Linked DNA regions of Homo sapiens: all the other regions are linked to region 1. The links are contacts of gene promoters, found by promoter capture Hi-C in blood cells and fetal thymus (Javierre and others, 2016). All regions are on one chromosome and are shown on one strand. The core of a region is centred on a gene start or on the middle of the fragment in contact, and the rest is flanking DNA. Distances in the headings are between cores, read along the strand shown. Region 1 has its middle 38 kb from the start of JRKL. Region 2 holds the start of KDM4E (lysine demethylase 4E). Region 3 holds the start of FUT4 (fucosyltransferase 4).

The links. Contacts are between HindIII fragments. The CHiCAGO score rates a contact against its expected background, and 5 or more counts as called.
Region 2: the fragment with the promoter of KDM4E here is called in contact with a fragment that was not itself captured in region 1 in 4 of 17 cell types (total CD4 T cells, activated CD4 T cells, M2 macrophages and 1 more); the score reaches 6.9 in total CD4 T cells.
Region 3: the fragment with the promoter of FUT4 here is called in contact with a fragment that was not itself captured in region 1 in 1 of 17 cell types (total B cells); the score reaches 7.2 in total B cells.

The regions. Positions count from the first base shown.
Region 1 is chr11:96,426,435-96,430,089 of GRCh38, forward strand. No RefSeq gene overlaps it. Among named protein-coding and RNA genes, the nearest start is that of JRKL, 38 kb to the left of the region's middle. RefSeq lists a silencer at 1,179-1,391. The HindIII fragment of the contact is 4,059 bases long and covers 1-3,653 here.
Region 2 is chr11:95,023,837-95,027,177 of GRCh38, forward strand. It overlaps KDM4E (lysine demethylase 4E), which reads left to right and starts at 1,422. Exons shown (of 1, transcript NM_001161630.1): 1 at 1,422-3,341. The coding sequence starts at 1,722. The coding sequence ends at 3,242. The HindIII fragment of the contact is 8,893 bases long and covers 1-3,341 here.
Region 3 is chr11:94,542,342-94,545,686 of GRCh38, forward strand. FUT4 (fucosyltransferase 4) reads left to right here and starts at 1,580. Exons shown (of 1, transcript NM_002033.4): 1 at 1,580-3,345. The coding sequence starts at 1,793. PIWIL4-AS1 (PIWIL4 antisense RNA 1) reads right to left here. Exons shown (of 5, transcript NR_135093.1): 5 at 2,991-3,345. RefSeq lists a silencer at 1,768-2,337 and an enhancer at 3,157-3,345. The HindIII fragment of the contact is 5,462 bases long and covers 263-3,345 here.

The DNA.
Region 1 (3,655 bases), core at 374-2,873:
AAAACAGAAGAGATAAGGAAGAATAGAAACAAAGGATGACACAGTCACATGTTCACAAGACAAAGAAACGCAAACACACATACTCACTTCATACTGGAGTTGCAAATGTGAACTAGCACAGCTAAAAGGGAGAGACAATTACAGGGACTCACAAAATTACTATGTAGGAGGCTTTCATGTGGATGAAGAGACAGGATAACAAGCACCTGCGGAATAAAACACACACACACACGCACACACACACACACGCCCACCATGAAGCTCCGTTCAAAATTCAAATGCATATAATCTGCAGAAAAACAAAGATACACTCATTTTAAAGCGTGTATCCCTGACACATTTTAAAGTGGATATCCCTGTTTCCATTTTGTTTTATAGATGGTTTGATTCTAACTTCATTTGGAAACATAGATGATCTGAAATCTTAATTTTTGAGAAAGAAAACCCAAATTTAGTCTTCAGGAGAGTTTTAAATATCTTGAAACAAAACAGGGGTTGGGATGCGGGAGCAGGGCAATGGGGACATTTAAGATGGAGTAACATCCCCATCTTGTGGTATATCAGAATATTGACTCTTCTTTTTAACACTATTTTGATTTAACATAGTTTTGGGTAAAAACATATCTAACTTGATTATGGGAACACGAGAGAGTAGTGACACAGGAAATTGAATCTGCAATTTCTCAACCCATTAAATTGTTCATCAATGCTGAACTAATACAAGAGTTACATTAATAAGCGGCAGGTTTAATTACTTAGCAGATGGCTGTTCAGTGTTCACCTTAATGTTATCAGACTCAGCAAAAACAAAGAGATGACCCGCATTTGTATCTATCTGTTCTACAATATATTGTCTAGAGGTTTCATTTTTTATTTTATTTTATTATTATTATTTTTGAGACTGAGTCTCGCTCTGTCGCCCAGGCTGGAGTGCAGTGGCGCGATCTGGACTCACTGCAAGCTCCACCTCCTGGGTTCAGGTCATTCTCCTGCCTCAGCCTCCCGAGTAGCTGGGAAGCGCCTGCCGCCACGCCCGGCTAATTTTTTGTATTTTTAGTAGAGATGGGGTTTCACTGTGTTAGCCAGGATGGTCTCGATCTCCTGACCTCGTGATCTGCCCACCTCGGCCTCCGAAAGTGTTGGGATTACAGGCGTGAGCCACCGCGCCCGGCCGAGGTTTCATTTTTAAAAAATGACAAACATTCTTGTTACTTTCTTGCACTTTTTTTTTCTTTCTTTTTCTTTTTCTTTTTCTTCTCTTTTCTTTTCTTTTCTTTTTTTTTTTTTTTGAGACGGAGTTCGCTCTGTTGCCCAGACTGGAGGGCAGTGGCACAATCTCGGCTCACTGCAACCTCTGCCTCCTGGGTTCAAGCGATTCTCCTGCCTCAGCTTCCCAAGTAGCTAGGATTACAGGTGCCCACCACCACGCTCAGCTAACTTTTTGTATTTTTAGTAGAGATGGGGTTTCACCATATTGGTCAGGCTGGTCTCGAACTCCTGACCTCAAATGATCCACCTGCCTAGGCCTCCCAAAGTGCTGGGATTACAGGCGTGAGCCACCACGCCTGACTATTGTCTTGCACTTTCTAATATAACAAAAAGTGAAGACTACTGCCACCACCAAAAACAATGCTTGCTTTGCTATAATCCTTTTCCTCAGACTGAGACACTTTGGCCTATTTAAAATGTGGGTAATGGCTCTAAAAATGCTTGTTTAGGATGCAGATGTATTCTCTATTTTGTCTTCTTTGACATTTTTATGTGGTTTTGGTTCTTTAGCATATGAAGTTTTATTTTTAATCAATCCATGATTTGTCCCTAAGTTGTTCTGATGGGAATATGAGAATACATAAAGGGAATATGAGATACAGCTCCTAGTGACAACATACTTATAGTCTAGTTGAAGACATAGACATGCCTACAAGAATTATAATTTAAAAACAAAACAGTGCGCAAGTTATTTTGATGTGCCACATCAAATTTTGTAGTTCTTTCCATCTTCTGCTTTAGTCACTCAATTCACTTGATAACTCCTTGAGGAGGCATCAACTGGGCATTTACTATTTTCATGATATTGTACTAGGAGCCATGAAGAATAACGAATAAAAGGTGCAGGGAAATATTAAAGCCTTTATAATCTAGTTTGGGTGACTAACCACAAAAATTTTTGGTGCCTACACCTATGTATAATATATTGACATAAATGGAAAGTGTGGGAGTTTTGGGTCTTAAGTGATAGGTCTCTCATTCACATGTTAAACTTATTTTTAAATATAAAGATAAAGAAAATTTAGAAATGACGGAATAAAAATCTGTAACACTGCTTCATTACCAAGTATTTACTATTTTGATGTACAATTGATTTTCCCCCTCATCTCAGGGTTTAGAGTTCTTAAGAACCACTGTGTAGGAGACTATAGCTGAAGCACATAGACCATATTTAGAAATTAGGACAGGATTACCAAGATCTTAACTCTTTTTAAAATTTAGTTAGAAAATATTTAGGAATAACTCTCATGAAAAGGTTCAAGTCTTTCTTGAAGAGAACTACAAAATAAGTAGAGGAACATAAAAGAATCTTGATTAAGTGGATGTTCTTGGGTGTGAAATATTAATATTGTAAAGAAGTAAATTCTCCTCAGATTACTACACAAATAGAATGCAATTCCCATTGGAATCCCAACTTTGCAACGTGGCTCTAAAGTTAATTTTAATAATTAAATTTTAGAGAAGAGCTAAACCTTTTTTTCTGAGGAAAATGAAGAAAGAAGATGAGTAAAGACAAACACAATTAAAATTAAAATCACCTGGTATTGGCAGAGGAAGAGAAAGACAGTTCAATGAGATTAGAAACCCCATAAAAAGTTATATTTAAGAATTTCATATATGATGAAAGTAATATTCTAAATTGGTGAGAAAAGAATGAGTTTGATACAAACTAATTTTGTAACAATTGATCCATCGTTAAAAAAATTTAGATTCTTACCTATTCCATACACCATCCAAATTCCAGATGGGTTAATATTTTAGCTATTAAAAATTGAAATAACAAAATTAATAGAAGAAAATAAATGGTTACATAATCTTAGAAAGGCAGATTTTCCAAGTATGACATCAGAGACAGAAACCAGTAAGCAGAATTTGGTTGATTTTATTGCACACTTATTAATATTGATTGAATAAATCAATATTAAACTACTGATCTTTTTAAAAAGAAAGAAATGAAACCGTGTCAACATATATAGGAAGGCAGTGTATTTTTAACATCTTTCACATAAAAGAAGTCTTATAAATCTATAAGAAAGTGACAAATATATGAAAAATGGAAAGAGAATGCCTAATTTAGAAAAAAAGCAACAGACTAACACTATGTCTCAAGAAAAAAAAGAGAAAAACAAAAACAAAAAAGTCAGAGAAAATGAAACAATGATGGCCAAAAACAGCACCAGGCAATTCAAAAAATAGGTCAAACAATTGGCCTACAATATAAAAAATTCAACTTTTCAAGTAATCACAGATAGGACATTACACATGAATGATGTGAGACAGAGTGAGATTCCATATTTTTATGTATCAAATTATAAAATATTAAAAATCAAATAATACCCTATATTGGCAAAAGTGCTTAAATGAGAGGAGGGTAAATTGGATGAAG
Region 2 (3,341 bases), core at 172-2,671, 1.4 Mb before region 1:
GGAGAAATCAAAAGTGCCATTTTCTGGCCATTTAGAACCATTGTCGAGTTTGTACTGGGGCCAGGTGGTGTTGCAGAAGAAAATAAGATGCTTAGATTTTGGGTCAGGTGAGAGTTGAAGAGGTTTTAAGTTCTTGAGAACACAGGCTAAGGGAGAAGAAGGAGGAATGGAGGGTGGAAGGTTGCCCATAGTGAAGGAGGCAAGTTTAAAAAATAAGGGTAGAGACACAGAGAAGGGGGGTGGGGAGCAGCCCTGAGCTGCAACGTAGGGGAGCAGCCAAAGCAGCTGTCCCCACAGTTGATTTGCCCATCAAGGGAATGTGGGTGAATGATAATGTGGGTGAATGCGGAGATCAGACACCAATGGAACATGGGTGAATAATCAGAGACACATCCCCACAATGATTAAACACCAAGGGAAGGCTGCCTTCCCGAGTCCGTGACCAGCGCCGGAGTTTTGGGTCCAGGGATAAAATGTGTCTCCTTTGTCTCTACCAGAAAATAAAAGGAATTGAAATTAAGAGAAGAAAGAGATTGAAGGGTGGCGCCAAGATTGAAAGAAGAAAGAGGTTGAGGGATAGTGAGAGAGGTTGGAGAAGACAGTAAAAAGAGCTGCTTGCCTGATTTAAAATCAGTGAGATGTTCCTTGGGCTGGTTGGTCTGAGGACTGGAGGTCGTATGTGGATCTTTTCACAGAGTGAGGGTGAGGACAGGGGACTGGTCTCCCGAAGGAGTCCCGCTGACCCAGGTCTTCGGCACGAAATGTCTCACGTGTCCGTGTCAAGAGACCCCCAAAGAGGCTTTGTGTGAGCAACAAGGCTGTTTATTTCTCCTGGGTGCAGGCGGGCTAAGTCCAAAAAGAGAGTCAGCAAAGGGTGGTGGGATTATCATTAGTTCTTACAGGTTTTGGGATAGGTGGTGGAGTTAAGAGCAATGTTTTGGGGGCAGGGGGTGGATCTCACAAAGTACATTCTCGAGGGTGGGGGGAATTACAAAGAAACTTCTTAAGGGTGGGGGAGATTATAAAGAAACTTCGTAAGGGTGGGGGAGATTACAAAGTACATTGATCAGTTAGGGTGGGGCAGAAACAAATCACAATGGTGGAATGTCATCAGTTAAGGCTATTTTCACTTCTTTTGTGGATCTTCAGTTGCTTCAGGCCATCTGGATGTGTATGTGCAGGTCACTGGGGATATGATGGCTTAGCTTGGGCTCAGAGGCCTGACAATGTTTACATATCCTGATGTTAGCATATGTTTTAGCTTAGCTTAATGCTAGCTGAATATTTCTTTTGTCTGGTTATATACTTATTTAAAAAATATGAATATTCTGTATCTTTTGTTGTTGTTGTTTAGGTGTATTGTTTCGACTTCCTAGAAGAGACCCCCAGGTACAGTGGGACACTAGCTGCTACTAGTGCACCCAAGCCTGAGAATCAGGAGAAGCCTCACAGTGACACCCCCAACTGAGGAAACTCACAGAGCTGGGACATACTCTACTTCTTCAGAAAAAAGTATACTGACTAGAGTGGAGTCCCCCTGGGGAGTCAGAAAGCCTGTGAAAGATCTCACTTGTTCAAAAGTCCAAGTGTGAATTACTGTCTCACAGATAAACCAAAGTATTTTGAAAAACAAAGGGGAGAAAAGAAATTACTCCCCAGAACTCTCAGGCATCTAGAGGACACCCAAGAACGTGGGAGTCAGCTGCTTCTTGTGTGCAGCCATGAAGTCTGTGCACTCCAGTCCCCAGAACACGAGTCATACCATCATGACGTTTTACCCAACCATGGAAGAATTTGCAGATTTCAACACATATGTTGCTTACATGGAGTCCCAAGGCGCACATCAAGCTGGCCTTGCCAAGGTAATTCCACCCAAGGAATGGAAAGCCAGACAGATGTATGATGATATCGAAGACATCTTAATAGCCACTCCCCTCCAGCAGGTGACCTCTGGGCAGGGAGGTGTGTTTACTCAATACCATAAAAAGAAGAAAGCCATGAGGGTGGGGCAGTATCGCCGCTTGGCAAACAGTAAAAAATATCAGACTCCGCCACACCAGAATTTTGCAGATTTGGAGCAACGATACTGGAAGAGCCACCCCGGTAATCCACCAATTTATGGTGCTGATATCAGCGGCTCCTTATTTGAAGAAAGCACTAAACAATGGAACCTAGGACACCTGGGAACAATTCTGGACCTGTTGGAGCAGGAATGTGGGGTTGTCATCGAGGGTGTCAACACACCCTACCTGTACTTTGGCATGTGGAAGACCACGTTTGCCTGGCACACAGAGGACATGGACCTTTACAGCATCAACTACCTGCACTTTGGGGAGCCCAAAACTTGGTACGTGGTGCCCCCAGAACATGGTCAGCACCTGGAACGCCTGGCCAGGGAGCTCTTCCCAGACATTTCTCGGGGCTGTGAGGCCTTCCTGCGGCACAAAGTGGCCCTCATCTCGCCTACAGTTCTCAAGGAAAATGGGATTCCCTTCAATTGCATGACTCAGGAGGCTGGGGAGTTCATGGTGACCTTTCCCTATGGCTACCATGCTGGCTTCAATCACGGCTTCAACTGCGCAGAAGCCATTAATTTTGCCACTCCACGATGGATTGATTATGGCAAAATGGCCTCTCAGTGTAGCTGTGGGGAGTCGACAGTGACCTTTTCCATGGACCCCTTTGTGCGCATTGTGCAACCCGAGAGTTATGAGCTCTGGAAACACAGGCAAGACTTGGCCATTGTGGAACACACAGAGCCCAGGGTTGCAGAAAGCCAAGAGCTGAGCAACTGGAGAGATGATATAGTACTTAGAAGAGCTGCTCTGGGCCTGAGGCTTCTCCCAAACCTCACAGCCCAGTGTCCCACACAGCCTGTGTCCTCAGGGCACTGTTACAACCCAAAAGGCTGTGGCACTGATGCTGTGCCTGGATCCGCATTCCAAAGCTCTGCATATCATACCCAGACCCAGTCACTTACCCTGGGGATGTCAGCCAGGGTTCTTCTCCCTTCCACTGGAAGCTGGGGTTCTGGTCGTGGTCGTGGTCGTGGTCAAGGTCAAGGTCGAGGTTGCAGTCGTGGTCGTGGTCATGGTTGTTGTACTCGAGAACTGGGGACTGAGGAGCCAACTGTTCAGCCTGCATCCAAGAGGCGCCTTTTAATGGGTACAAGGAGTAGAGCTCAAGGCCACAGGCCTCAGCTCCCGCTTGCCAATGATTTGATGACAAATCTGTCCCTTTGAGTGGTGGCCTTCAGCATCTTGCCAAGGCTTCTGGCTGCTGCTGTGTCCCTGATCTTCAACTCCTGGGGCCCCCACTGGATCGTGATGAAACCATGCACC
Region 3 (3,345 bases), core at 330-2,829, 1.9 Mb before region 1:
CATTTATAGCTTTTTCTTTTAATTAAAAGTAAGAGTGGAAAAAAGTCACTGAAATGTCTAATTTCAAATAAAATATTTGATTTCTAATTTCTGTTTTTCAAACAAACAAAAAACCCCAGAAGCATTATGAAAGGTTTTACTGTGCAGGAGGAAATGTTACTAGGTTGATGGGCCTAGCCAGAACACCTAACATCCTCCATCTAGTCTCCAAACTGAGGCTGTGGCCCTGCAGAGAGCGCCACCCGGAAGCCACTTTTATAGAAGCTTTTACACACAATGCTTGATTTTTTTTTTTTTTTTTCCGAGACGGAGTCTCGCTTTGTCGCCCAGGCTGGAGTGCAGTGGCGCGATCTGGGCTCACTGCAAGCTCCGCCTCCTGGGTTGACGCCATTCTCCTGCCTCAGCTTCCCGAGTAGCTGGGACTACAGGCGCCCGCCACCAAGCCTGGCTAATTTTTTTTTATTTTTAGTGGAGACAGAGTTTCACCGTGTTAGCCAGGATGGTCTCGATCTCCTGACCTCGGGATCCGCCCGCCTCGGCCTCCCAAAGTGCTGGGAGTATAGGCGTGAGCCACCGCGCCTGGCCTATACTTGATTTTTAATGAAAACATTCTTAAATTCATATGGCTAACGCAAATTTATTTTCTGTAGGCATAACATCAAAAACACCTGGCAGGATTGCCCCATTCCCAGCACTGTCTATTTCTCCCCTAGTATCAGTGGGACTCCACTGATGCACAGCTGTGATCTACTAAAACTTCTCTCAAAACTTTCTCCTCTCCTTAGGTCAGCAGCCCCGCCCCTGATCTATTTGGAAATCCCCTGAATAAAAGTTGAATATCATAAACCAAAGCGAACACCCAGAAATTCAAATTCAACCCGTAGGTAAAAAATTTCTCAAGTGACTGTAGACGTAGATGTCTCCAGTGTCGCCTAATAAGGTAGAAGAGGCCAGTGCGATACTGTCTTTACACCCTTAACTTGGGTGCTAGAATATTTATCTTCGTCATCATTTTATCATCCAAACTATTTTGCATAACTTTCATGGGTGCAGAAAATGTTTTTTAAGTGCTTGGTAAAATTAATAGTGATATTCATTCATTCATCTCACTGAACAGGCAATAAATTCCTTGACGACAAGGGCCTTGGGGGGGTCACATCTTCATCTTTGGTTTATGAGTCCTGTGCGTCTTGGTACAAGCAATACTACTATGAGCCGGCAAGTCAGACTTATTTGGTAGGGGACCAAAGGAAAGAACATGTTTTGATTGCTAAGAAAACATTTTGTTCTCTATCCTTTACTGGGCTGGCAGGCAAAGGAAATGTTCTTATGAGCACTCACATTGAAAACTTAAGTTCTTCACCAAATGCAGAGACTCTGAAGGCCACGCCGCTGCGGGCTGCCTCCACAATTCGACCGTCTCGGCGGGCCACGAGATCCTGGCCACGGATGCGGTGGCCGCGCCTCTGCTCGCACGTTCCCCCGGCCTCTGGACTCCCTCCCTCCCTCAATCCCTCCCTCCGGCGGGCGTCGCTGGCGGGTGGCTAGGCCCAACGGCAGGAAGCCGACGCTATCCTCCGTTCCGCGGCGCCGGGTCCGCCTTCCGTCTGTTCTAGGGCCTGCTCCTGCGCGGCAGCTGCTTTAGAAGGTCTCGAGCCTCCTGTACCTTCCCAGGGATGAACCGGGCCTTCCCTCTGGAAGGCGAGGGTTCGGGCCACAGTGAGCGAGGGCCAGGGCGGTGGGCGCGCGCAGAGGGAAACCGGATCAGTTGAGAGAGAATCAAGAGTAGCGGATGAGGCGCTTGTGGGGCGCGGCCCGGAAGCCCTCGGGCGCGGGCTGGGAGAAGGAGTGGGCGGAGGCGCCGCAGGAGGCTCCCGGGGCCTGGTCGGGCCGGCTGGGCCCCGGGCGCAGTGGAAGAAAGGGACGGGCGGTGCCCGGTTGGGCGTCCTGGCCAGCTCACCTTGCCCTGGCGGCTCGCCCCGCCCGGCACTTGGGAGGAGCAGGGCAGGGCCCGCGGCCTTTGCATTCTGGGACCGCCCCCTTCCATTCCCGGGCCAGCGGCGAGCGGCAGCGACGGCTGGAGCCGCAGCTACAGCATGAGAGCCGGTGCCGCTCCTCCACGCCTGCGGACGCGTGGCGAGCGGAGGCAGCGCTGCCTGTTCGCGCCATGGGGGCACCGTGGGGCTCGCCGACGGCGGCGGCGGGCGGGCGGCGCGGGTGGCGCCGAGGCCGGGGGCTGCCATGGACCGTCTGTGTGCTGGCGGCCGCCGGCTTGACGTGTACGGCGCTGATCACCTACGCTTGCTGGGGGCAGCTGCCGCCGCTGCCCTGGGCGTCGCCAACCCCGTCGCGACCGGTGGGCGTGCTGCTGTGGTGGGAGCCCTTCGGGGGGCGCGATAGCGCCCCGAGGCCGCCCCCTGACTGCCGGCTGCGCTTCAACATCAGCGGCTGCCGCCTGCTCACCGACCGCGCGTCCTACGGAGAGGCTCAGGCCGTGCTTTTCCACCACCGCGACCTCGTGAAGGGGCCCCCCGACTGGCCCCCGCCCTGGGGCATCCAGGCGCACACTGCCGAGGAGGTGGATCTGCGCGTGTTGGACTACGAGGAGGCAGCGGCGGCGGCAGAAGCCCTGGCGACCTCCAGCCCCAGGCCCCCGGGCCAGCGCTGGGTTTGGATGAACTTCGAGTCGCCCTCGCACTCCCCGGGGCTGCGAAGCCTGGCAAGTAACCTCTTCAACTGGACGCTCTCCTACCGGGCGGACTCGGACGTCTTTGTGCCTTATGGCTACCTCTACCCCAGAAGCCACCCCGGCGACCCGCCCTCAGGCCTGGCCCCGCCACTGTCCAGGAAACAGGGGCTGGTGGCATGGGTGGTGAGCCACTGGGACGAGCGCCAGGCCCGGGTCCGCTACTACCACCAACTGAGCCAACATGTGACCGTGGACGTGTTCGGCCGGGGCGGGCCGGGGCAGCCGGTGCCCGAAATTGGGCTCCTGCACACAGTGGCCCGCTACAAGTTCTACCTGGCTTTCGAGAACTCGCAGCACCTGGATTATATCACCGAGAAGCTCTGGCGCAACGCGTTGCTCGCTGGGGCGGTGCCGGTGGTGCTGGGCCCAGACCGTGCCAACTACGAGCGCTTTGTGCCCCGCGGCGCCTTCATCCACGTGGACGACTTCCCAAGTGCCTCCTCCCTGGCCTCGTACCTGCTTTTCCTCGACCGCAACCCCGCGGTCTATCGCCGCTACTTCCACTGGCGCCGGAGCTACGCTGTCCACATCACCTCCTTCTGGGACGAGCCTTGGTGCCGGGTGTGCCAGGCTGTACAGAGGGCTGGGGACCGGCC